Linked DNA regions of Homo sapiens: all the other regions are linked to region 1. Evidence: promoter capture Hi-C in human tissues and cell types (Jung and others, 2019). All regions are on one chromosome and are shown on one strand. The core of a region is centred on a gene start or on the middle of the fragment in contact, and the rest is flanking DNA. Distances in the headings are between cores, read along the strand shown.

What was found. The method cuts DNA at HindIII sites, captures the fragments that hold promoters and counts their contacts. A contact is called where the count stands out against the background at its distance.
Region 2: a contact is called between a fragment that was not itself captured here and the fragment with the promoter of FRAS1 in region 1, in 1 of the 25 tissues and cell types used here (dorsolateral prefrontal cortex).
Region 3: a fragment that was not itself captured here is called in contact with the fragment with the promoter of FRAS1 in region 1 in 1 of the 25 tissues and cell types used here (heart left ventricle).
Region 4: a contact is called between a fragment that was not itself captured here and the fragment with the promoter of FRAS1 in region 1, in 1 of the 25 tissues and cell types used here (H1 embryonic stem cells).

Annotation. Positions count from the first base shown.
Region 1 is chr4:78,055,355-78,060,901 of GRCh38, forward strand. FRAS1 (Fraser extracellular matrix complex subunit 1) reads left to right here and starts at 1,969. Exons shown (of 74, transcript NM_025074.7): 1 at 1,969-2,731. The coding sequence starts at 2,656. RefSeq lists an enhancer at 555-1,526. The HindIII fragment of the contact is 7,312 bases long and covers 1-4,725 here.
Region 2 is chr4:78,856,446-78,861,585 of GRCh38, forward strand. BMP2K (BMP2 inducible kinase) reads left to right here. Exons shown (of 16, transcript NM_198892.2): 8 at 3,139-3,242; 9 at 4,944-5,023. Among named protein-coding and RNA genes, the nearest start is that of PAQR3, 80 kb to the right of the region's middle. The HindIII fragment of the contact is 3,192 bases long and covers 562-3,753 here.
Region 3 is chr4:78,594,538-78,599,930 of GRCh38, forward strand. ANXA3 (annexin A3) reads left to right here. Exons shown (of 13, transcript NM_005139.3): 8 at 844-900; 9 at 1,257-1,350; 10 at 2,782-2,877. Among named protein-coding and RNA genes, the nearest start is that of ANXA3, 45 kb to the left of the region's middle. The HindIII fragment of the contact is 5,153 bases long and covers 1-3,856 here.
Region 4 is chr4:78,660,167-78,665,399 of GRCh38, forward strand. LINC01094 (long intergenic non-protein coding RNA 1094) reads left to right here. Exons shown (of 3, transcript NR_038308.1): 2 at 2,752-2,806. Among named protein-coding and RNA genes, the nearest start is that of LINC01094, 17 kb to the left of the region's middle. The HindIII fragment of the contact is 3,718 bases long and covers 1,661-5,233 here.

The sequences.
Region 1 (5,547 bases), core at 719-3,218:
TTTGCACATCACTTTACATGGATTGAGAAGATGTCCTCCACCCCCCCGCCCCGCCCGACCTTTATTTTTGAGACAGAGTCTCGCTGTGTCACCCAGGCTGGAGTGCAGTGGTGAGATCTCTGCTCACTGCAACCTCTGCCTCCCGGGTTCAAGTGATTCTCGTGCCTCAGCCTTCAGAGTACCTGGGATTAAAGGCATGTGCCACCACACGTGGCTAATTTTTGTATTTTTAGTGGAAATGGGGTTTCACCATGTTGGCCAGGCTGGTCTCGAACTCCTGACGTCGTGATCTGCCTGCCTTGGCCTCCCAAAGTGCTGGGATTACAGGCGTGAGCCACCGCACAGGCCCTACTTTCTAAATAAAAAGGGAGGGGTCTTTTTTTGGGAGGAGGTTAAGGCCCGCAGCTCCCCTTGATATGGCCGCTGCTCTCAGGCACTTAATCCATTATTTCAACAAATGTTTAAAGAGCACCTACTATGTGCTTCAATTATACAAAGATGATACAACCTCTGTCCCTAGAATGACCACAGCCCAACAGAGAGACTGAGGGCGAAATGTGCAAACCCTGGGTCCTCCAAATACTTAAGATTCAGAGCCAGGTTGTCAGAGGTTCTCCTTTGTTCTGGCTGAATAGTAACACTGACAGGGACCTGCCAGTTTCAAGTTATTCCAGTTATTCGGAAAAGTGAATTGTTCCAAGTGGCGTCAGTGCACGTTAGAACGTGGGCCCGCGTCATGGTGTTCGTGAAGACTGGAAACAAGTGGGACCCCCGCCAGCACAGCTCATGCAACTGCTTCCCCTCCAACAGTTTCGCCCATCCCGACTCAATTGAGGGACCCGAGACGTTTCTTCTCTGGGCCAATCAGAACCCAGTCAGCATCTCTCTGATGCAACTGTTCCCTTATAAAACGATTAAACGTGGACCAGCTATTTTTATTCGGTCCTATAAAAATAGCTGCCGTCAGTCAGTCCTGGCGGGGAATCAAGGCCTCTGCTCTTCAAGTGCGCGCCCCAGTCGGCCGTGTCCTGATGTTACTTTCCCAGCCATTGGCATCTGGGGGCGCAGCTGGACCCACAGCTCCCAGACCGCGTTGTGTTCCACTGACAGAGTCTCCTAGGGAAAGGGAAAGGTGCATTTGCTCTCAGGCTCCGCCTAGGACACACACACCAAGATCTTCCCGGGCTGCTGGTAAAAGCCAGGATGCAACAGCCTGAGGGTCCCAGAGCGAGGAAGAAGGATCAATCAGGTCCCCCGGACGCACTTAGTTCAGCAGGAGTGGCGGGCTGTGGGGGTGGGAGGTAGCCCCAGGGCCTTTGATGTGGGCACACGCTCCCCCAGCCCGCCGAATCGGTTCCTCCCCTAACAAGGGATGTGGACACGGTTCATCTGCCTTCCGGTGTGCCTGAGCAAGAACTGTGCAACCTATCTCCACCCCCTCCGTCCCCGGTATGAGCACTTTTGATTCCTCCCCAGACAAAGCCAATCTGAACTCCAGCAGAATGAATAAAGGGATCAGGTTGCTCTCCCGGCCTCCCCTCACCTCCCTCCTCGCTTCTCCCTTTCCCCACGTGACTCTCTGGAATTTCGCCAAAGCTCCGAGTCTCTGGGTCCATTTTCACACCGAGCAAAGCAGAGAGGAAGGAGGCAAGGGAGACTAGAGGAAGGCTGAACGTGTGTCCTTTAAACACGGGGTCCAGACCCGGCGTATTTTGGGCGTTTCCAGGCTCTCTCGCCAGAGTGGCCTTGAGTTTGGGGGTCTTTTCCAGCCTCGCTAGCTTTTTCCTCCGTGCAATTAAAATTATGGCTCTTCTTCCACTCCCGTAATCATTGCACCTCTACCCTGCAGACCTCCTCCGGGGTGTTCAGCGCGGAGGTGGGTGTTGGTGTGCAGCAAGCCGCGTCCCCGCAGCCCTCCTCACCCAGGCGAGGGGCGGGGACGAGAAAGTAGCAGCAGCGCCCCCCAGTCTTTCCTCTGAAGCTTCCGAACAGTCTGCTTCAGGGAGCGCAGCCTGAGGCGGTGTGGTGCGGTGCGGCTGCAGGGCGGGCGAGTCCCCGGAGCTGCCCTCAGCGCTGCACAGTTTCCAGCGAGCGGACCCCGGCAGATGAGGTCTGCCGAGCCGGGTGGCTCGACCAAGGAGTGGGTGTGGGTGGGTCTTTCGGGGCTCCCGGCGACCCGCGGTGCCGACGCAACGCCGACGTATGGTGCCAAGCGAACTTTAAAAAGCTGCTTCGGACAAACCAGAGCCAGGATTTCCACTGTCGGGGACCCGGGATCGGAAGGGTCTAGCCCGAGGGAAATGCTGGAAGATCCCATCGGCCAGTGACCAGCAACTTTCCGGCGAGATTTTGACGCGGAGAACTGTGCTCTGCCTCCTCTTATTCTCCCAAAGCTCACGTTGGCGTCCTGCCTTGCGGGGGAACTCGGCGCGCTCTCTGCCTGAGCAGCGAGTGAATTGAACCCCAGCCCGCTCCGGCGCCTCCGGGCTGATGAGTGTCGCTCTCCGCCCGTCCATCTCTTTTTCCCGGAGGTAAAGGCCCGCGGTCCCCCACCTTCAGTGCGCCCGGGTTCCAAGCGCCGGAGCCAGCGTTTTGGCGGAGCCGCTTCTTGGATGCTGAAGGCTGGGCTCCTCCATCGTGGGTGCCGAGGCGGCGATGGGTGTCCTCAAAGTGTGGCTCGGGCTGGCCCTAGCGTTGGCGGAATTTGCAGTATTGCCTCATCATTCCGAAGGTGAGAGAGCGGTGCCGCGTGTGTGTGTGTGTGTGCGTGTGCGTGTGTGTGTGTATGTGTGAGTGATCGTGCAGTTTAAAAATCTCAGCAGGTTTTATGGTATTTCGGTGAGGTGGAAGTTTTTCTGGGAAGGGTGAGGTGGAAGTGAAACTGGAATAGGCTTTTTCTGATAAGATTCCTACTCCTGATTGTTTTGTATTCGGATTACACCCCCGAAACGGCCTCCCTCTCTGCCCTAAGTGCTTTTGGGTGGGTGGGTGGCCGATGGAGGTGACATCTCTGAAACTGATCCTTTTTCTTTCCACCACCTACCTTTCCCCGAAGGGAAAGCAACTGCATGGAGCACAGGTGAGGAGCGAACAATTGCTCTTACCTGTTTAAAAATACTTCTGTTCCTAAGAAACATACAGTCTTTCATCTTAAAGCCCCATCGCTCTCCCGCCCTCCTTACCTCAGTTAGTCTCCCCCTAAAGTCCAGTTAGGATTTTATAACTAACTGGTTGGAGCGTGTTCTGGTCGTGGGCAGTTCAGTTGCACTGAAAGAAATCTCTCCAGTACGGAGAAGCACGAACCAGCCTGCTTCCCAGAACAAAAGTGGTTAATAAGAGTTTAGGTTCATTCTTTTACTTCACCCTCCGCCTCCTGGTTTTCCTCCGAGGCTCCAAGCTACCTGTAAAACCCCGGAGCCGCAGGAGAGAAAAGGAAGCCGTGAGACTAGTTGTCGCCATGATATCAAATGCAATCCGGGCTCAGCCAAATAAATGAGTCAATAAGTAAATCAAGAGTTTGGGGTCATGGGATGCCGGGCCTGGGGACGCGAGGCGCTGTGAGCTCCCTCCTGCTCCGAGGAGCCAGGGAAGTCGCCCCGCCAGTGCTTAGGGAGGGGGAAGGGAGCCGGCGGGCTGGGAGGAAGACGGCTTAATCCACAGCGCCTGGCTCTCGGCTTCCCCTCCCGGCTCCATTCATTATTCATCCAGCTGCGGGAAGAAGAGTTCACCTGCCCAGCCGCAAACCAGAGCCGCGGCTGGGCGGCGGCGGCGGGCGCAGGGCGGGCCGCCTTCTCCGCCCTGGTGCCTAGGAAGGGGCGCGGGGCGGCTCCCGGGAGTCGAGCTCTGGCGCAGGACTGGGGGCTGCGGGAGGCCCGGGGAGGACAAAGCTCTGCCTCGGGTCGACCTCCAGTCACTGGAGCAGCTGCCTTTTCTTTGCTGGCTTCCCAAGAGAAAGGCCTTGGGAATCCACGCACAAGGGTGGGGGACTTTCCCGTGGGTCCAGGTGCTGCCTTCTGCACTCTTCCGGGATGTGTGTCAAGTGTGTATAATCTCCGCGAAAGGCACATCTGGGGCCTGTGCAGCCTTCTCCCAACAGTGCAAGTCCTGTAGAAATATAACTTTATTGTTTATGTGCGTGTGGGCGCGTACTTTGGAAAAAAAAAAAAAAAGCTTGTAGGGCTTGATTATAACAATAAACCAGATGAGAGAGTCACCCCAGGCCACCCAAACCTGAACTTGGTACTTAGAAAAATTAATTTCACTTGGTGGCAGTTTTTAAAATTTAGAGTCCTATCCCAGCAACGCAGGAAACGTGCTATCACTCCCGGATAGCTCACCAGGGGGCAGTTGGAATGGTGCAGCTTGTCGGAACCAAAACTCTGAAATCAACAAAAGGCATTATTATTAAGAGCCTGCAGGGTGCGCTCTTTGGCAGATTGCTTGATCCAGTGGGCCAAGTTTAAGAAGTGCGGAATCTAGACTGGGAGGTGGGGATGGGGGGATGTGAAGCACAGAAAGCTGGGGGTAGAGACGGGGGGCGGGGGCGGGGGCGGAGAGAGGGTGTGGATATTACTCCAAAGAGTCTTTGGAAACTTTGCTTCTTATTGTTTGACTTTACTGTCAGAGCATTCTATAGCTGTTTCACAAATTGGATTGATAAATTGATAGATGTCTGAGTTTCCACCCACGTCATAATGGTGCTTATCTAATAATGAATGAATGAATGAATGAACATGGCCATTTATTGAGCAGGTATTGTTTGCCTGGCTCTTTGCTAAGCACTTTACATACTTTATCTCATTTAATTAGTTTAATTAAGTGATATCACTCCCACAGACAAAAAAACATTTGTCATCTGATGAGACCTCTGGTTTGGTCCTCTCAAGGTTTTCTTTTTCTTTAAAAAATAAGAGCATTGAGATCAAGGTTGGAAACCTCAAGGATCTTAGAAATCTCCTCAAGTTTTTATTATCAGCCTAGAGAATAATTTTTAAAAATAGAAAAGAGACATTCACATGTATACTTCTTTTGATGGGATGTACCTTGTGACACCTTTGCTGACCAGCTTATGGCAGAATTTGTCGTTTTCTTCTCAGTGCACAGAGAGAACAATTGTGGTTGGTATGGGTTTGGTCTTCCTCACTTAGCTGTGTGCTTATTGAGGGGTTAGGATGGCTCCTATTAATTCTGATATCTTCAGTTCAGCTCCTAGTATACACTAAGTGCTCAAAAAATTGGTCAGATGAACAGTATTGCCAAATTATATTATTTTGAATTAAGCTTAACTGGTGGACTGGCCTCTGATTAGCTCACTAACCTTGAATGAACCATCTAACCTCTTTGCGCTATAGTTCTGTCATTTACTAAATGAGGTACATTACGTGATAGCTCTAAGATACTTTGGCTAATCATCAAACATAGAAGAAAAAGAGATCAGTATTTGCTGCATTATTAGTGGTCAATTGCAATTTTCTGGTTCTAAATTTTATTATTTTTATTATTTTTTTTTTGAGGCACAGTCTTGCTCTATCACCCAGGCTAGAGTGC
Region 2 (5,140 bases), core at 908-3,407, 800 kb after region 1:
CCATTCTCTTGAAGAGTTCAGTAAATTATATTATTTAACTTAAGTGCTTAAAGATGCCTTATTGATTTTTTTTCCTTTTTTTTAAATTGCTGATAATATTCAATTTAGAAATATTCAGAGATAAAAATGTAGCCAAGTTCTACCTGTGGGTTTTAGGTATGATTATTCATCTTTTCATACTTTGAATTTAGAACCAAGTCAGAGATGGTCCACTGGAGCTCATCAGATAAAACTGTCAACTTTTTAGTACTGGTAAAGCAGATTGCAGAATGAAATTTAGATCTAAAGCCGAAGGAGCCTGTTCCTCTGTTCCCAACCCTCAAATTTATTAACATCCAGTCATAGTCAATGCTGGAAAACCTTAGACTTCTTCCACAGAGACAGGTTACTTACAAAATGTGGTTTAGCAGAGAACATGTATGTTCTTAAAATAACCTGTTCTGAAAGAAAGATCATCAGAGATTGATGGGTGGAGGTGCTTCATTCTTTTTTCTAGTCTAACAATTTGACAAATCACTGTCTTTCCCACTGGGGAGAATGAGTTATAGTAGTAGATAGCGATCGTGGCACTACACTAGCACAGTGGCTTCAAACTTTTTGTGACTGTGATTCAATATATTAATAAAAAATACATTTTAGTTATGACCTGGTATACACTCCACACACAGAATACACACATGTAAACTGAATCACATTTCATGAAATATTGCTTACATTTACCATATTAATGTACTGTAATATTTTCTGTTCTTCTTTATTAAAATAAATAGTAGTTCTGACCTTTTGAGTTGATTTTATGTCACATAAATGGAATCAGTACAGTTAGACTAAACTGGCTCCAGCAGATATATTCCCACATGAAAACATGACCCAGGGGAATTGGAGGTCCTTGTGTTTGCTTATAAGATAATATCAGTTCTACCTGCAACCTAGCTACCTAATCATTAGAGGATATGCTGTGCTTAACCTGAGATACAGAAATACCTATACCCATATAGGTTAGGACACAAAATCTCAAATTTATTTTTTTCTCTCTCAGTGCTTTTCAATTGCTATGAAAGAAAACAAAACAAAGAAAAACAAGGAATGCCTGAACTATCATTTAATTCCTCTCTGAATACTTAAAAAGTTTTTCTTGGATTAAACCAGGCCGCAAAAGAAGTACATTCTTAAACCATACCCCTTTCTTTTACTGCATGGCATTTAGGCCACTAGTCCATACTGATAGCGTGTTTAAAACATGACCCTGTGTCACTCACTGCTATTCCTTAAGGATGTTGTTCACTTTGTGTGAGCTATCTTTAGAAAGACTCAACGGAGAATTTGCTCTCTAGCTTTCAGTATCACGAATAGTGTTTTTCCTTAGCACCTGATTTGTTTTTGTATTAGATACACTGTGATTCATGTAATGGATCATGTTGCCCTGTTTATATTGACAGCTAAAAAATGGAGAGCAAATTTTGGGCCTGCATTTAAGACCAAATCATATGTAGTTTGTAACTGACCTCATTATCCTGTCCATCTCAACCCCCAAGCCACTATTTTTCCATTAGTTTTAATTTTCTTATATATTTAAAAAAAATCTTAGTTTTGTGTGCCACTTCAAGTTCTTTATAGGACTAAATATGTATAATTAGCTATTGTTGAAATTAGATTTTAAAAGCCAAATAAATTTGTTAGAATAGAAAAATAGGACTATACGTTTGTGAATTAGGTAGGTTTCGTGTGATTTGTTTGGTTTTTAAAATTATATGAATAAGTAGTTATTGTTAACAGTATGTTTAAATTTATCCCCATTTTGTGTACTGTTGTTACGTTAAAAACATTTAATATCTGTTGGTATCAAGATAAAATAAATTTTGTAGATTCCTCAAATCTTTTTTGGATTGAGTTTGAATATAAACTAGCAAATATTAGAATTAAAATGTTTTTAGTTATTTCAGTCTAGCAATGGTGGTAAAAATTATAAAAAACATCCATTTTATAAGTGATATATGTTAGCATTATAAATATATAAAATCAAGTTACATGCAGAGTTTTCGTATATTTTACACTGAGCTCAGAATCTCTCAAATAAATTATAACTTTCCACATAACTGTGTTTTTAGCCAAAATAAGTTTATCATGTCATTGAAGATGTATCACACATTCTGTATTCAAAATATTACTTAAATTTGAAGGGAAGATTTAATTCATTTTGATTTATAATTTTATTTAACCCATTTACATACTTAGATCTCTCTATACATTATTTTATTAGCAAACTTAAGAATATCTAATTCTTTAAATTTTACATTTTAAGTAGTTTAAAAAGGATTTAAACATTATAACAACTTAGAGTTAATGAAGCAGAGGTAGACTTTGAGATGTCTTAACAAAATCTTTTACTTACGGAATTGAGTATAAATGTCAACCTTGTGAAATTTAGAATTAAAAATTATCCAAGAAGTGGAGTACTACCAAATGGTAGTGGTCATTTTGGTAGAAAAAAGATCAGGCATTTCAAGCAATGCTGTAAGGTTGTTTTGAAATCTGTTCATAAAAACCAGAAAACTCTGCCCATATTTCTGAGCATGATATGGATAACATGTTAAGATACAGAACTATGGTGAATGTTGTTAGCATCAATATGGGAAGAGAGTATGTTTTTGGAAAACGACAGTGCCAATCCATTACTACTTTGTTAGATTATAACATATACAATTTAGGCTTTTCTTAATGATTAAGGATCACTTAAAAATTAATACAGGTATTTTGGATAATAGTAATAATTATTTTGAATAGAATTATCTTGAAGGACCTTTTTACTATGGCCTTGGAACTTTCTTGAATAATTCCCCAGTGTTCACTAAACTCACTTTTTCTTTTGTGTCACTTTTTCAATAGAATAATCAAGTTTGTCATTCATACTTCTAGTGTAGAGCTGTTCTGTGATTGATCTACCCTTAGCTTGGGATAATGCTTTATTTATAAAATAGCAATTTCTGCATTTTCTGTAGGCATTAATAAAGTTTGCTAGAATCATCACTGATCTTAGAGTGGAACAGAAAATACATATTTTTTATCCTTATAATGTGCCCCTAAGTAGTATAATGTGTGTTTCATAAAACTTCTTAACATTTTGATCTATTCTTGCAGGGTTCATGCTTGAACCAGATCCGGAACATAGACCTGATATATTTCAAGTGTCATATTTTGCATTTAAATTTGCCAAAAAGGATTGTCCAGTCTCCAACATCAATGTAAGTAGATTTTCAAGTAGGATATGAATTTAAAATTCATTTTATCGTATGTGAATATATTTACTTTCAGAGTTACTTTTTTTTTGTTGCTGTTGCTAAAACTCAGAGTTTCTTGTTTCATGACAAGTGATCTGATTGTGTGTTTGATATTTGTGGTATAAAGCTTCAGTACCCAAACTATGCACTGAGATACCTTGGGGAGCTGCAGCAGACTCAGGCAGAATATTTTGCATTTTTGAGGAAAACACAGGGACATCTTTCTGACTTAGCACAAAACTAATTTTATTAAGTTATTTGGGCCTAACAGTTTAATAAACAGGACTGTTAGTTTTTTTTTTTTTTTCTTAGAAGTGTTGTAAACAATTACTGAGACACGGAGCACTGTTAACTGAGTAAGTTTGGGAAACTTTGGTATAAAGAGCACAGGCCTTGTTAAGTGGGAACTAAACAATGTGTACGCATAGATATAGACAGTGGAGTAATAGACATTGGAAGTCAGAAAGGTGGGAAGCGGATGAAGGATGAGAAGTTACCTAATGGGTACAATATACACTATTTGGGTGATGGTCATACTAAAAGCCCAGACTTCACCATTATGCAGTATATCCTTATAACAAAGCTGCACTTGTATCCCCTAAAACTACAAAAAAGTTTTTTTTTAAAAAGCACAGGCAATGTAAATAGACCCAGATTCAGTTTTGTCCTTATCAGTGACTGACTTTGAATCTTTTGGTAAGTTACTTTAATGTCCATTTCTTTTTCTGTAAAACAAGGATAGTAATTATAAGGATTACATGTGAAACCCAGTGCCTAGTCCATGGAAGGTGCTCAGTTGGCAATAGTTAGTATTATTCAAAAGCTTTCAATTTTATTCACTGACTGTACAGTGCATTTAACTACTTTAGGTGAATGGTGTATGGCAAGTCTCTGCCAATCTTAATAAAGGTTCTGCAATCATCACTGATTATAAGCCATTCTTGACTTTGTAAAGATCATTCTGGCCTGACCTGTTTCTGTAGGGTTTCCTTTATGTGTAACTTAATCTACCCCACTAAGAAAAAAGAAGGAATGTGGTACCTTTCCTTTTTTTTTTTTTTTTTTTTTTTGTGAAGCCCTCGCCATATTGATGTACTCTTTTCTCTGTTGAAGCTGAAAGCTTTGCAGTTCTAAAAGTAGATAAGTAGACTCATTCGACATTTACTCAGCAAGTATTTATTGAGTACCTACAAAGAACTAAACATTGGGTATAGACAAATAAACAAGGCCTTCTGCCCTCATTTTCCAGGCCTTACATTCTGTGTCTTGAAAATTATCTGTAGTATGTAGAAACAACACTTAATTCTTATCCTTGGTGTTTGTTGCTTTTTCCAAAATGTAAAATAGTTATTGATTTACGAGTGTAATATAATCTTTCTTTTTACTCAAGATTTACCCAATTATAAATGGATACAGTGGTGTTCTTCTGCTTATTTTCCAAGGTTTCTGTGGCACATGAATATGAAATTGACATTTGTGTAACATGTAGTGATATTTGCAGATTAGATCTGGCAAATACATGTGAATAATTTATAGGTATCTGATGTGAAAGTAATAGTGTCTCATAGTACTTTTAAAGTTCAATGATATATCCATAGCTTACAAAAACTTTCTGCAATTAAAATAAAAAACTAAAATGAGACGTTTTATTTTTTTTCTTCCAAGAATTCTTCTATTCCTTCAGCTCTTCCTGAACCGATGACTGCTAGTGAAGCAGCTGCTAGGAAAAGCCAAATAAAAGCCAGGTAGGCAAAACTATGCTGAAATTGAAAAGGCATTAAAAAAAATGATAGGTCTTGTTTTTAATCCTAGCAAGTGTAATTGATTAAATATCATCTTCATCCACAAAGAATGTTGTGTTG
Region 3 (5,393 bases), core at 30-2,529, 540 kb after region 1:
CCAGTATTTGGTGTTGTCAGTGTTTTGGATTTAAGCCCTTCTAATAGGTTGTGTAGTGGCATCTTATTGTTTTAATTTGTAATTATCTAATGACATACAATGTTGAGAATCTTTTCATGTGCCATCTGTGCGTCTTCTTTGGTGAGATGTCTGTTGAGATCTTTCAACCATTTTTAAATTGGGTTGTTATTTTCATATTGAGTTTTAAGAGTTCTTTATGTATTTTGGATACAAGTTCTTTATCAGATACATGTTACAAATATGTTCTCCCAGTTTGTACCTTGTCTTTTCTTCCACATAAGACCTCTGTGTTGGGTTGGGCACAGTGGCCCACACTTGTATTCCCAGAGATTCAGGAGGCTGAGGTGGGAGGACAGCTTGAGGCCAGGAGTTTGAGACCAGCCTGGGCAACATAGCGAGATCCCATCTCTAAAAAAAATTTTTAAATTAGCTGTGTGTGGTGGTGTGCACCTGTAGTCATATTAGCTATTCAGGAGGCTGAAGCGGGAAGATGGCTTGAGCCTTGGAGTTCAAGGTTATAGTGAGCTATGACTGCAGGACTACACTCTGGCCTGGCCAACAGAGAGTGAGAACCTGTCTCTAAATATATATATATATGAATTTTCGGAGGAGGGAACTGAGGCCCCCAAAATTGTGTGATTTGCTAAAAATTTCATGACTAGTCAATGGCAGAACCAGAACTGGAGCCCTGAGTACATGATTTTTCTGTGCAACCTGTCCTGCCTTAAAGAAAAACCACTAAGATCCCCTGCTGGTTGAAGTACTATGTGTTAGAATCTTCTATCTTTAAAGGATGGCCCTTGTTTTCGTCCTCCTGTTTAGGGCAGAAGAGATGAAAGTCTGAAAGTGGATGAGCATCTGGCCAAACAAGATGCCCAGGTCAGTAACAAAGCGGGAAAACATTTCCTTTACCTATTCTCCTATGTGGCTGCCTTTGCATTTATGTGAAAAGGGAGAAAAATAGCAGCAACAGGGACTTTTCTTTTTTTTTTTTTCCTGTTTGAAAGAGAAGCCTGAAGCTTGGGGATCGGAACCCTAACTTTTTGCCTGCCCCAGTGGTAGTTATCATTCTCCTTGGCTCCTGACAGCCCAATTTTTGATTTCTAGTCTTCTGAAAGTGAGAGATTTAGATAATAGATGATGGCACTGACCTCTGAAATACAACTCCGATTCTTCTCATGTCACCTCTCAAAAAGAAAATAATTGTGTCTCTAATATCATTCTCTTGTGAATAGATTCTCTATAAAGCTGGTGAGAACAGATGGGGCACGGATGAAGACAAATTCACTGAGATCCTGTGTTTAAGGAGCTTTCCTCAATTAAAACTAAGTACAAACTCACATTACAATCCTTTGTGTTGTATGTTGTTTTTACAAATGTTTTTGCATTTAGTATACAAAGATCTAGAAAAACGAAGTTTAAAATTGCGAAGTCTGTTCCAGTTATTCACACTTCAGGAAACAAAATGGGAAAGCTGTATTGTAACTCAAGGAAGTACTGACACTACACTTTTGTTTTTCCATAGAGGCTGAGTAGATTACCTAGTGAGTACCAGGTAATAGATGGGGGAGGGAGGTGGCAGGGAGAAGAAAAGAGGCCACCCTCTAGGGTGAGAGTAGAAGGGCTTGTTCCTGTGGAATGGAGAAGCCCAACTGCTTCCACTCCACCTAACAGTTCTCCCTAGTTAGCCACTTCCAGAAAAGCCAGACACTGCAGGTGAGTCTCTGTTGACACATCAATACTGATTAACCTTTAGCTATTTCTGATATGAAGGTAAGTGGTAGAATGGATCAACTCTTATCGTCAGACCAGCTATTACATGGAATTGTGGGCACCCGCCCTCTTGCTCATGGCATCTCCTAGAACTGTTCTGGAAGCAACAACACCTAGAAAACTAAACCTTCATTTACTGTGAACATCTTCTGACTGTGGCTTCCAGATGCTAGTTTACAGAACAACCACACAGCAAGACCAAGCTTATGCTGAGTTGACGGAACAATGAGTAAACATAAGGATATTACTGTGACTTTGAAATTCTGAAATTGTTCTTTCTTAACTTTTGCATTAAAATCACATTTATTTTATAAAATAATGACAACAGTATGTGATAGTTGCTTTATTCATGTCTTTGTTTGAAAAACAAAAACCAGATAACCCTAGGTCTCTCTCCAAAATTTCTTTTTTTAAAAATGTATTGGGGAAAAATATACTTGGCTTACAAAATATGCCTGTATACTTGGTGACATATGTACAGGTTTTGCTTGGGGCAAATACTGATCAAGAAATTCAAATGCCTTCTGGGAGGTGTGAAGTAGGCCATGCCACCTTAGGAAATGATTCAGCACAAGGAAGTCTTCAGAATTAAGATTTCTTTACCAGAGAAAACATATTTGACTAGTGATTATAGTATCATTTCCCAGGTGCTGCTATAAATAAAATTTAAAATAGCCCAACTTACTGGATAAATTATTTATTATTTAACTATTTAGGCTATTTAAAATGCTTACTGCTTGAGAGAAGGGGAAAGAGAAAGAGAGATCATTGAAGAAAATCATCTAGGGAGTTTGGGTTTTGTTGTAGATGATTTCCTTAAAAAGGAACAAAAGAAAAACAAAAACTTCTGTGCCCAGATTTTCATGGTTTAAAGAGGGAGTTTTTTAGCTTGCTACTTGATCTTCTGCATATCAAATAAAAAACTAGAATATATTCAAATGTGCTCAACTGCGTTGCTTTAAATAATTTTGTGGTGCTTCTTTTTAGCATTTGATGAATACAGAAATATCAGCCAAAAGGACATTGTGGACAGCATAAAAGGAGAATTATCTGGGCATTTTGAAGACTTACTGTTGGCCATAGGTAAGACTTCGAGTGCTGGTAAACTAAGTTACTTTGCACTTGCTTTAACTCAGTGCCGAGGCCTGCTCCTTTTGGGCAAGAATCCTGACTGATCCATTTTTTTTGCTCCCTACAGCCCCCAACATGGTCCAGGATACACACAGTACGCTCAACAAATATTGTTAAATGAATGCTTGAAGAAGTTATTTTTTTAAGTCTTTTTTCTTTTTCTTTTTTGAAACAGGATCTCACTCTGTCACCCAGGCTGGAGTGCAGTGGTGTGATCTCAGCTCACTGCAGCCTCAACCTCCTGGGCTCAAGCAGTCCTCCCACCTCAGCCTCCCAAGTAGCTGAGACAACAAGCATGTATACCACCTGGCCCAGCTAATTTTGTATTTTTTGTAGAGATGGGGTTTCACCATGTTGCCCAGGCTGGTCGTGAACTCCTGAGCTCAAGCAATCCATCCACCTCAGCCTCCCAAAGTGTTGGGATTACAGGTGTGAGCTACCACATCCAGCCATCTTTTTAAATCTTACCTTGCTTTTTAAATTTGTATTTGTCTTGTGACCATGTTTAGCTTGTAGACTTCTTGAGAGCTGAAATATTTTATTTCTACTGGCATTTTTATTGAGCTTTGTTGAAAACTGAGACGTAGGCAAAGCACAGTGGCATGCACGTGTAGTCTTACCTACTTGGGAGGCTGAGGTGGAAGGATTGCTGGAGCCAAGGAGTTCAAGGCCAGTTTGGGCAACATAGCAAGATCTTGTCTCTTTAATTAAAAAAACCACACACACACACACACACACACACACATGCAACTAAGACCTAAGCCAGTTTGGTAATCCACCATATTTGGTTATTTATGAAAGATATCAGTGGCTTTTCTTTTCTTTCTTTCTTTTTTTTTTTTCTTTTGAGATGGAGTCTCACTCTGTCACCCAGACTAGAGTGCAGTGGCACAATCTCAGCTCATTGTTGACTCTGAATTGCTAAAAGATAAGCCGAGGAGGCTAAGAAAGGGAAAACTTTCTTCTTCAATTAAAAAAGTAGAATTGAGATCAGTCTTCATAATTAGTTCTCAGACTGTTCCAGTGGTAATGATACACCTGGTTAATTTTTTTTTCCATTTTACATTGTTAATCTTTTTTTCTTTTTTTTTCTTTGTGACGGAGTCTCGCTCGGTTGCCCAAGCTGGAGTGTGGTGGCGCAATCTCAGGTCACTGCAACCTCCGCCTTCCAGGTTCAAGCAATTCTTGTGCCTCAGCCTCCTAAGTAGCTGGGATTACAGGCACACGCCACCACGCCTGGCTAACGTTTGTATTTTTAGTAGAGACAGGGTTTCACCATGTTGGCCGGGGTGGTCTCAAATTCCTGACCTCAAGTGATCCGCCCACCTCTGCCTCCCAAAGTGCTGGGATTACAGGCTTGAGCCACCACCCCTGGCCTATATTGTTAATCTTTATATTAATTCTGCTTGCTGTTTTTCATTTGGTGTTCTTGCTAAGCCGTAATGTTTGAAAAACTTTGTTGAGATGTACAAACTCTCATTCACTGAGCTAAGGAGCATTCTTGGAAATATATCATTGAATAATGTATTACATTTGGGCTATAATGCACATTATTTTATCATGTAAAAAAAGACCTTATAATTCAATTGAAGTTCAAAATATGTTACACTTTCATTTTGTTTCAGTCTACCATTGGAATAAACCAGTTTATAAAATTTTTTATTGAGATATAACTTACATACCATAAAGTTCACCCACTCAAAGTGTGCAATTCAATGCTTTTTAATGTAGTCACAAGGTTTTGCAACCATCACCACAATCTAAGTTTAGGACGTTTTAATCAGCCGCATAAGAAACCCTGTAACTATTGACAGTCACTTTCCAATCCTCCCCACCCCCTGGCTCCTATAATCATTAATCTACTTTCTGTCTCTATAGATTTGCCTACTCTGCATATTTCATACACAAGGAATCCAATACAATGGTCAACACATAGTTTTTGACATGAAAAACGATCTGAGCTGTGTCATCTTAGAATCGTGTAATAGGAGCATACTACTTGCCAAATAAGAACAAATCCAGACTTAAGTAAGGAGAGGCTTTATTCAGTAGAACTATTTCAATAGAGAGAACATGTTGATTTCAGAAACCTGAAAGACTGGGCTGGGTGTGGTGGCTCATGCACATAATCCCATCACTTTGAGAGGCTGAGGCAGGAGGATCCCTTTAGGCCAGGAGTTCAAGACCAGCCTGGGCAACATAGTGAGAGCAGCATTCTGAGACTGTTCCAATGGCAATGATAGAACTGGTTAATTTTTTTTCCATTTTATATTGTTAATCTATATATTAAAGATTCTACAAAAAAATAAAAAATTAGCTGGGTAGGTTGGTGGACGCCTGTAGTCCCAGCTACTCAAGGGGCTAAGGTGGGAGGAGTGCTTGAACCCAGGAGGTCGAGGCTCCAGTGAGCTATGTTGGTGCCACTACACCAGAGCCTGAGTGACAAAAGTGAGATCCCATCTCTAAAA
Region 4 (5,233 bases), core at 2,270-4,769, 610 kb after region 1:
ACTCCAGTAAGCCTTTATAATGCCATACACACATAAAGTGAAACAAGAAGACCCTGTGAAGGATGATAGGAATGACAGATCTCGTCCTACTAAAGGAATAAATTTCCTTCCAAACATATTACAGTTGTATAAGCTATAAAATATATTGCTATAAAATGACTCACCTATTTGAAAATCCTACTGCATAGAGTTTCCACAGTTAGAAAACTGGTATGCGAAAATGTGAAAGTTGGTAAGAATCAAGAAATAGTTTTTTAGTACCTATTGTGTGTAAGGTATTATTACATAATCACAGAATTATACTATTATTTTGCTTTTTGCATAGATTTGCATTACCTAGTCAATATTTAACTGATTTATTTAACCTTTGTAAAACAAATTCAGAATCTCATACTGAGACTTAGGAAGTATATACAGTAGTTCCCCCCTTATCCGTGGTTTTGCTTTCCATAATTTCAGCTACCTGCAGTCAACCACGATCTGAAGATGTTTAAGGGAAAATTTTGGAAATTAACAACTCATAAGTTTTAAATTGTGCACCATTCTGAGTAGTGTGATGAAATCTCACAGCATTCCGCTCAGTCCCTTCCAAAGGTGAATCATCTTTTGGTCCAGTTATCTGCACTGTAGATGCAACCATCTAGATTATCAGATTGAAAAAACATAGTATAGACAGTCTAGGGTTCAGTACTATGCACAGTTTCAGGCATCTACTAAGTCTTGGAACGTATCCTTCAAGGATAAGGGGGAACTATTCTATTCATAAATTCATAGAATTTTAAAGCTGGAAGAACTCCGAAGGGAATGAAAATCAGTGTCCTAGGCTTTCCTTAAAATGCTAGGTAATGTCCTAAGGAGCTTTTGAAATTTTAAATTATTTTTAAAACACTTTATAAAAGAAATTTTTTAGTCAAATATATCAGTGCTCACTAAATCCCCACCTATTATAAGAATTTACTCATCCTAGCAATGTCAACTTTAGGAAGCATAAGAATAGAAACTGAGATAATATAAATGACTTATTCAAGGGGAATGGCATTAATCAGTCAACAAAGTGAGATAATCAGTAGAGCATCTGAAAAAATAAGACCTCTCATATGACCTGTTTGTTTATTTCTGTTCCCAGATGACAAATATTTTTTGAATTCTGCCCAGCTCCTCTTGGGGTAGACAAATATTAAAACAGAAAAAAGTGGCAAGGTGCTTTTGTTCAGTGTGGGCTCATGGGGAAAAGTCCTATAATATTTTCAGCTGGTCACTATGAAGGCAGCCAGCAGTGAGCTCAGCCGACATTGTTGTGGGATGGCACTATGACATCGATTAACGGAAAACTGAATGTTGAAATTATGCAGCAGAGGAAAAGAAAAGGAGGAGGACAATAACAAAATTTTCCAAACAGAAAATCACAAGGTCCACATAGGAAAAGTATAGTTTTCAAACTCCAGAAGATATTTGCAAACACCAGTGAGCAAGCTATGAATCTTGTTTTCCCATAGGCCCTACCATCAGTAGAGATCCCAGGTAGAGCAATTTACCTGCACATTGTTGCCAGGGAACAAGGGAAGGCGAGTCAAACTATTTGGGGATTTAGCTGAGCTTTGAAATAACTGAAAAGCTATGCTTCAATTTTTAAGAGTTCATCAGGTAGGATTTCTAGGATTGTAAGGTCCTCACTCTAGAACTTCTGAAAATAATCAGATGAATCGGAATTAAAGAACTAATGGCCTTAATTGTGTCTAAATAGGAATGAAGTAACAATGACTGTCATCATGAGCTATTCTCTTCTATGGCTCTGGACGGTCTTTTTTTTTTTTTTTTTCTGTTCAGAGCTTCCTGCTTGGTGTTTGCCTAAGTAGGGAGGAAAGCCATTGTTTGAACTTTGCAACAACAGATTGCAAGCTAAGGCTTTTCTACACTTTGTTTAATTTTCCTGAAATGTTCCTTTTTACAGAAAAGATCTGTTGTTGACCTAGCATGCTTTTTGTCTTACTCAATACTCCCCTGGGGATGTAGTTAAAACAACACTTAGCTGTAATTCTCCTGGGTGGAGAAGTGTTTGGTGGTGGCAATGAAACTAAAGCACAGATTTGAGCAACTGTGGGCTGTTGACTTTATGCTAGCCTTTCATAAAGAGAAACCTCAAAACACCGTGGCCATTCAGCAAACAGTGTGAGTTTCATCTAAGCCTGGCTGGCTTTGCCCTTGCTATCTTCGGGCTAGAATGATCCTAACCATCAGTGTCTTTGTGTCATGATGCAGAAAGTTGGCTAGGACATAGGAGGATAATGCTGAAGTATAACTTCTGAGTGGGGGAGGGAATCAGGCAGAGAAGTAAAGCTCTACACAATGGCTAGTGCTTCTGTATTATGATGTGTGTTCCAACGGAGGTCAATCATTGTGCATTGTCTCTAGGGAGTGAATACAGCATATTATTTTGGGGTAGAAATTGAGATTTCTTTTGGTGGTAAAATATACAGAAAATAGAAACTCTCTGTACTTGATTTCTTTAAGTTTATTTAAATACCTTCAAAGGTATTCTTCTATGAGAAGGAACATGACATAATAGGACTCTAAAAATGAAACTGTTTTAGTGATGGAAATTTTCCATATCAAATCTACTATAGCCACTAGGATATATTACCAAAGTTTTTAAAAATTCTTGTGTGCAGTGAACTTTGTTGATTGCCTACTCAGCAAAAAATCATCTCCTGTGTTCCTAATGAACCTCAATTTTGCTTTCCTCTCTTCTAGTCATGTGCCTGGGAAAGATTGATGCCAGCTCCAGAAAGGCATCCGAATGGTCTAAGTAATGCCATCCATCTGTCAGTAATAGATTCAGAAATGGGTATGTGATTCAAGTCTGGCCAATGAGATGTATGCAGAAGAGTGCTGGGTATTCTGGAAAATTATCCCTTGTCATTCAGAGATCCACAGGAATCCAGCCTTTTGCTCCTTGAATGGGATAAGGAAGCACATAATCCCAGTTGCTCTTCCAGTCATCCCAGACCCACAGCCCTGCTTTAGCCATCCTATAGCCATCATATATTCACAAGGGGAGAGCAACTGAGGACAACACTGTGGATCCTTGTGACATAACCAAGCCAGTGAACCAATCAATACATTTATTTATTGTTTGAGCCATTGTAGTTGAGCTTACGTTACTGGCAGCTGAAAGCTGAAAGTTATTCTATCTGCCAATCCTCATCTTGCACGTCTCTTAGTTTTGCTCTTATCTCTCCTTTTCCTCTTTTTCACACATAAATCCCAATCTTTGTTCCAACTCACACTGTCAACACTCTGACCTTTCCCTCTTGCTTTCTTTTCCTCTTCTCTCTGTCCCTCTCCCTTTTGCCTTTCTTTCTGCCAGTGCTACCCACAGGTATATCTTAAATCTTATTAGCCATAGCCATGACCAAAGACTAGGACCACCACTAGGTATAACTGGATTAGGTGGAGTTTTGCTCATTTGCCCTCCTTTGTACTTTCGACATCAACATCCCTCACCCCTCAGCAATTCTCTCCACTGTGCCCCACTCCATATAACAAAAAGTCTTGTGTGCTCTGAAACATCCACCCAAAAACTATATTTTCACTAAAATTCCTTTGGTGATAATGCCTTAACATGGTGGTTTCCAAAGCTTTTTAAAACCATAACCCACATTAAGTATCCTCACTCAGTATACACAGAATATACACATAGGCACTTGATATAGTCTGGATATTTGTCCCTGCCCAACTCTTATGTTGAATTGTAATCCCCAGTGCTAGAGGTGGGGCTTGGTGGGAGGGTGTTTGGATCCCTCATGGCTTGGTGCTGTCTTCACAATAGTGAGTTCTCTAGACATCTGGTCATTTGAAAGTGTGTGGCACCTTCCCCCTCTCCTTGCTTCTGCTCTGACTATGTGACATGCCTGCTTTCCTGCTTTCCTTTTGCCTTCTGCCATGATCATAAGCTTCCTGAGGACTTCCCAGAAGTCAAGCTGATGCTAGCATCATTGCTTCCTGCAAAGCCTGCAGAGCTGTGAACCTCTTTTCTTTATGAATTATCCAGTCTCAGGTATTTCTTTATAATGTGAAAGGAAAATAAACCTTGGGGCCCCCAAATCACTAAGCTAAATGGAAAAGTCAAGCTGGGAACTGCTTAGAGCAAACCTGCCTCCCATTCTATTCAAAGTCATCCCTCTGCTCACTGAGATAGATGTATATCTGATTGCCTCCTTTGGAAAGGCTAATCAGAAACTCAAAAGAATGAAACCATTCATTTGTCTCTCGCCTATCTGTGACCTGGAAGCCCCCTCTCTGCTTCGGCTTCAAGGCTTCCTGCCTTTGCTTCAAGTTGTCGCGCCTTTCCAGACCCAACCAATGTACTTCTTACATATACTGATTGATGCTTCATGTCTCCCTAAAATGTATAAAACTCAGCTGTGCCCCAGCCACCTTGGCCACATGTCATCAGGACTCCCTGAGGCTGTGCCGCAGGCTCATCTTCAACCTTGGCAAAATAAACTTTCTAAATTAACTGAGACCTGTCTCAGATTTTCGGGGTTTAGAGTAGCAATGCAAGAAGGGACTAACACAACACTGCAGGAAAAGTTCTATGAAACACACTTACCTTTACTACCAGTGACACATTCTGATATTACATATTCTGTTCTATTTCATTTTTAAAAAGTGTTTGTCTGTACTCACTAAATTGATGTCATGGATAGTTGTTGTGACCACCAAAAACACTTCCTTCACCCACAGCAGAAATTCTGGTGGTCGTGTGATAAACTTGTCAAAAAGTCCTTTGAGGGTAATTAGACTCATACTTAAACCTGAATAAAATGACAGCCAACACCAACTAAAAGAAGTTCTGTCTGTGTCAATTTGGATACATTGTTTCCCCTAAAAAAATGAAGAGTGAGTGAGAATATATGAATGCTGACACCTGATGTGTTCCTAGTAATTTCAGGGGATCTTTCTGAAATGGCAAAAGTGTTTAAGAAACACCATTATAATTATTTCTGAAAGTAAAGATGTTTCCTGCAAAAGCTATTTGAGTCCCAGAGCCAATTCATTAATTGGTTTTATGTTTGACTTTTTAGAGCCCATTAAATATATCTATTTGGTTATTCATTTGGCAGCTATGCTACTTCTTTAAGAGCTGGGAATGGCAGATTGTCTATAAGAATCATTTTTATAACATGGATTGTGGTAAAAATGTGTTAGCTTTCTTGTTGATAACTACTTG